2 separate regions of the Homo sapiens genome follow, and region 2 is linked to region 1. The links are contacts of gene promoters, found by promoter capture Hi-C in human tissues and cell types (Jung and others, 2019). All regions are on one chromosome and are shown on one strand. The core of a region is centred on a gene start or on the middle of the fragment in contact, and the rest is flanking DNA. Distances in the headings are between cores, read along the strand shown. Region 1 holds the start of FABP2 (fatty acid binding protein 2). Region 2 has its middle 64 kb from the start of LINC01061.

Region 1 (2,700 bases), core at 40-2,539:
CGCCCGGCCTCTTTTTCTTTTTTAATGAAATAATAGAGCTAGTAGAAAATAGTTTGCTTTTTAAAGTGCTTACTTAATAAAATAAAAAGTGGGCAACTCGAAATAAAAAATCAAACAATATCTAACATGTTTAAAAGATTTTTAAAAATCAAAATATAAAATAATATCAAAATTTAAAAACTGGGATTCTGTTCCCCAAAGTTCTGTTCAAATCTGTTAGATTTATCTTCCCTTGACCCTAAGTAATATCTTGGGCAAGCCCTAGAGCTTCTTTCCTGACCCTTAGTTAATAAGATGTTATCTGGTCACATTCAGTCACAATAATAGACTCATTTTAGTAATAAACATCTTAAGACTAGTAATTAAAACTCTTTACTTCACACCAAGTTTCCTCCCCAAGCTTGGCCTGTTCCTGGCTGGCAGCCTGAAGTAGGGAAAGGAGAGATATGGTGACCTTTTCTTTGTACCTTTCTAGCTACCCTCTATACCCTGACCCTACATACATAATTGAGCTGTGGCTTCTGACTCTACTGGGTTTGGGGATGAGAGGCATTGAGAGTAAAATGAAGGAGTGGTTTTAATTAATGGCACAGCTAAAACTGGATTTTGTTCTCTCTGCACATGGCAGATGTTTAAAGCTCATTCTTTCTTTTATGCAAGTTTTTACACCATCCAGCCTCATTTGTACCTCTTGAATTTTTGCTCAGTGGCCTATCACCATTCAGGATCAAGACAAAAATCAATGAGCACTTATTGTGTGTCATGCACCCTACAAAGTGCCAGGATATTTATCCAAACTCCTGGCAATGCTAAACACAATGCAAAAAGACATATTAGAAAACGAATCTTATTAACTTTAACTTTTCAACTGTATTTCATCATAAAGTCTTACTTTACAAGATAATTGCTGTTGTGAAAAAGGGAAAGGTCATGGTCTCATTTCCCAGATGTTATTTGATATATGCTATAAATTATATTACCTCCAACATAGTCTGCACTTTGAACTTAGAAAAACAATCTTCAGACGGCATGCATTCTAATTCTTGAAATAAGTATGCCCACAAACTGTAATTTAAGACAGAATAGGTATGCTTCTCATGTTTTAATTCAGTTGAATTTCAGAAGATCTCAGGAATGTACAGAACGAGAATTAAGAATTAATTAATAAGAATTAATTAATTGCTTGACATAGTTAGGTGATTTCCTGAACTTTAAGCTTCCACATCACAGTATGAAGTTGGTTCTAAGATAAGAAATATAATAAATTCTCGCCCAAGGACAGACCTGAATCTCTAGCTGCCTAGAGGCTGACTCAACTGAAATCATGGCGTTTGACAGCACTTGGAAGGTAGACCGGAGTGAAAACTATGACAAGTTCATGGAAAAAATGGGTAAAGACTTTATTTCTTTGTGGCTCATTCTTTGCTTTCTTACAAACATTTTTCTTTCTAACTCCTAAATCTCTAGGAGATTACAGATAGCTTACAGATAGCTCCTGATGTGGTAGAGAGGATCCAGAAGATGTTCAGAGGAGGGAAACCATATTCTCCCTTCTTACATTAGGAAGAATCCACTATCTCACTAATGGAAGAAAAGATTCTTTGAGTGCTGTTCTCTGAAACACACCAAAAAGATCCAGAAATGTTTCCTTCCCTCTTTAACTGAAAAATGACTTTTTTTGTTGTTTACAGTAAGAAAATGGCAGCGTGTAATGATAACTTCCAGATCTGAAAATGTTAAATTCTAGGAGATGGAAAAACAAAGACCATATAAGAAAGTAATGGAAAAGGTTCTCTTAAAATTTATAGCGCTGAATAAGTTAGATTTAATTCTGATTTCTTCTAACTTAAAAAAGTTTTGGAATAATCTTGAGAAGCTGTGTAGTTTTCTCCAGGGCGTTTAATTTAACTGATTTATAATTTGATACCAATACTCTGGCAGCCCATATACTATACAAGATAGGCAAACAAATTTGTGTCATTCCCCTAAAAGAAAAATCTGCATCAATTATAGCTTACAGTTTAGGAACTCTAAGTTTAAATTTATAAAAGTTGTAGATTCTTATAGTGATTTTGGCTTAATATTTGCTAATTTTCTCATTTTTGTGTCAGAAAGAAATGCCACAAGAAGCAAATAGAACTATAAAGTTCAAAATGTTAAAGCCACTAAGAAAAACAAAGGGGCATTTAAGAAAAAAGAATACTGTATATGTGGAATTAAAGATGTGCTTCCTTATAAATATATGAATATACATTTTAATCCTTCATTTGATATTTCTAGAATTTGATTTACTTAACACTGAAATGAACAGTTTGTTAATCTTATTAAGGTTGCTCAGCTCTAAGATTCTATAATTCTGTACTCTACTTAATTTTTCTCAAGTTATGGAAAAACAACTTTAATCAGTTCTCTTGATCTGATTGAACCTGAACTTCTGTAGAAGCAATCTGAATGTTCTTGTGCAAAGGCAATGCTACCGAGTTTTCTTCCCACCCTCAAAATAAACAAACAAAACATAACTTGGAAAAATAAACACTTCCTATGGGATTTGACTTTATTTTCTCCATTGTCTTACCTTTTACAGGTGTTAATATAGTGAAAAGGAAGCTTGCAGCTCATGACAATTTGAAGCTGACAATTACACAAGAAGGAAATAAATTCACAGTCAAAGAATCAAGCACTTTTCGAAACATTGAAGTT
Region 2 (2,700 bases), core at 193-2,692, 150 kb before region 1:
GCAGCAGCCACAGCTTGGGAAGCGCATAATGGTCAAGGTCTAGACTCTTTAGGGAAAGTCTCCAAGGACTTTATATTCTGGGGGAAGATATACCTTATTATAGCAAACCAGTGTAGTTACTAATATTTTTAATATATTAGTATAATTATTACAAACAGGAAAGGAACAAGAAACACAAAAAATCAAAACAGTAACTCTTGGTGGGGAGACGGACAGAGCTGAGATTGGGGATGAACACAGGGAACTTCAACAGTTTGGCAATTCCTCCAGAAGAAAACCCCAACATAAGGATTTGAGCATAAGTAGTTTATTCAGGAGGTTATCACAGGAAACACTAGTGAACTACTTATTTCCCTGCGAAAGCAGAGAAGACAGATGAGAAGAAAGTAAATCCATATAGGCTAAGTTAATAAGCGGGTTATTACTGTGGACAACTGGGGCTCGATTTCACGTGGAGACTGTTTCCTCTTTGAGACTATATAACCGCAATTATTTTTGCACCAATCTAATAAAATATCAGTGTTCCTACCTGAAGGCAGGGGGCTTGGATATTTATCCACAAGCTTTTCCTCATTATTAGTTGAGGGCTGTTCCTGGTAACCTTAACTCCCTGGCACTTCCAGCATGCTCTGCCTGCAGGAGATAAGCATATTTCTAAGGCTAGAGTGCACAGAGGCATATCATCTCAGGTGCTTAGAGGAGACAGCCATTACTGCCTTTTAGAAATACTGAGTACCAAGGAGATATGCCTTCTATTATACTAGTCTACTTCTTAAATTGGGGGTAGTAAAAAGGGTATTTATTGTATTATGTGTCCTATATACATGAAATGTATATTAAGTGGACATATTCCTTAAATTACCATTTTATTCTTTGCAAGGTGTTTGTTAGAAATGTGGACTTCTTAATATGTTTTTGTTTTCACCGATCTGCTCATTTGCAGCAATGGGACCATAGACTCCCTAGAGTCACTGGGCTGTAACACATTATTTGAAAAAGTTGGCCCTTCATTGCAGGAAGGCAGTTGTAATTAAGTTTAAATATGGTATTTTACCAAGCAGCAGGAACTAATTTGCAATAACTTTAGAAACTATATTTTAGGAAAATAGCATGATACGAAATTAAACTCGATTTGTGTGTCTGGTTTTTTTTTTTTTTTTTTAGTATGTGGATCATTTTTATATAGTAGGATTTTGGTATTTGGGGTTTCAGAGTTCATATACCATGGGCTATGAAAGCTTTTTTAATTATAGTTAACTCAAATTCCAATTATAGTATTCCAAGCAGAAACAGTTCTATAAAATCCTCTATTGTGTGGCTGGCATGTTACAGTTTCATTTATTAAGCCAAATGCACTATAGGCTAAGCTTAAGGAGGAGGATCATTCAATTGACCAAGGCAAACAGAGCTGACAACTGGACTATACTTTACAGAACAATACATTACAGTTGGACTCAAGGGGGAAACTGGGAAACGTGGTAATTTGTACCTGGTTACACAAATGGCCAAAGGTGCCTGAATTATTTTTAGAGAATTATTGTTGTCCTTTCAAAATCCTTAGAGCCAATAGCTCTACATAAGGTAAGTTAAACAGACAACAAATATTTATTCACTATATTATCCCTTTAATAGAACAGCTTTTAAAAAAAAAAAATTGAAGAAGTTTTTCAAGGTTCGTTTTGAAAAAAGTCCTAAAGCCTCTAATACAATGCATATCTGTATTCTTTAATACAAGTTTTAATATAATGCTCTGTCAACAACTACCTCCAAGGTAGCTGAAGGTTAATAAAACACTTTTTACAAAGGAATTGACAATTCACTAGCTTGAAGGTCCTTAATTGTTCTCTGAACAAGACCAGACTCACCAGTCTATATCTGAAGGTGGATCTCTATTTACATTGTCTAAAAATTGACCAGAAGCTGTGGAATAAGCTGTTTCAGAATAGCTCACAAAGGCTAAATCTATAGAGGTAGAGATGAGGGCATAATAGAAGAGTTGGTAACGTAACATGTTTAGTGGGACATTTCTAACAGAGATCATGAGAGTAAAATGCACTGTGATTCCCTTTAATTTTACCTACCAATTTTTGCCCAGGCCTATTTGATGAGGCAGACCAACTTAGTATGCCTTTGTAACTGTACACATTTCCATTTTATAGTCGTTAAAATGGATTAATCATTAGCATTTGAAGATTCTATTTTTTCTCCTTCATACACAAACCCAATAAATAAATGGACAGATGGATGGATGGATGGATGGATGGATGGATAACTATAATTTAAATTGGAAATTTTGACTGATACAACAATATACAAAATACATTTCAAAGTGAAACGTTGGACCAGAGAGCCTAAATTTCAAGGATGGTGACTGATATTAAGTTCTAATACCCACAACATAGATATGTAAGATTATGGTAATTGAGAGAATTTTGTGAGGATTATTTCAGTGGAAAAATAAATGTACTGTGAAGGAACAGTGATGATGGTTGTATGTACTACATTTCAAGATAGTCACTGAACTCCATAAGTATTTCCTGCACAATCTTGTATTTAAATTTTTGGTATCTTGTTCATCATGGTTTTTTATATTAATAATTATTTTTAAAAATTTTCTTAAGGTATGTTTATCTTGGCCAGGCACAGTGGCTCACACCTGTGATCCCAGCACTTTGGGAGGCCGAAGTGGGCAGATCACCT

The links. Contacts are between HindIII fragments. The study calls those that stand out against the background at their distance.
Region 2: a contact is called between a fragment that was not itself captured here and the fragment with the promoter of FABP2 in region 1, in 2 of the 25 tissues and cell types used here (H1 embryonic stem cells and dorsolateral prefrontal cortex).

Annotation. Positions count from the first base shown.
Region 1 is chr4:119,320,727-119,323,426 of GRCh38, reverse strand. FABP2 (fatty acid binding protein 2) reads left to right here and starts at 1,289. Exons shown (of 4, transcript NM_000134.4): 1 at 1,289-1,391; 2 at 2,585-2,700. The coding sequence starts at 1,325. The HindIII fragment of the contact is 4,027 bases long and covers 1-1,912 here.
Region 2 is chr4:119,473,015-119,475,714 of GRCh38, reverse strand. It overlaps the pseudogene SEPTIN7P14. Among named protein-coding and RNA genes, the nearest start is that of LINC01061, 64 kb to the right of the region's middle. The HindIII fragment of the contact is 3,030 bases long and covers 1-2,700 here.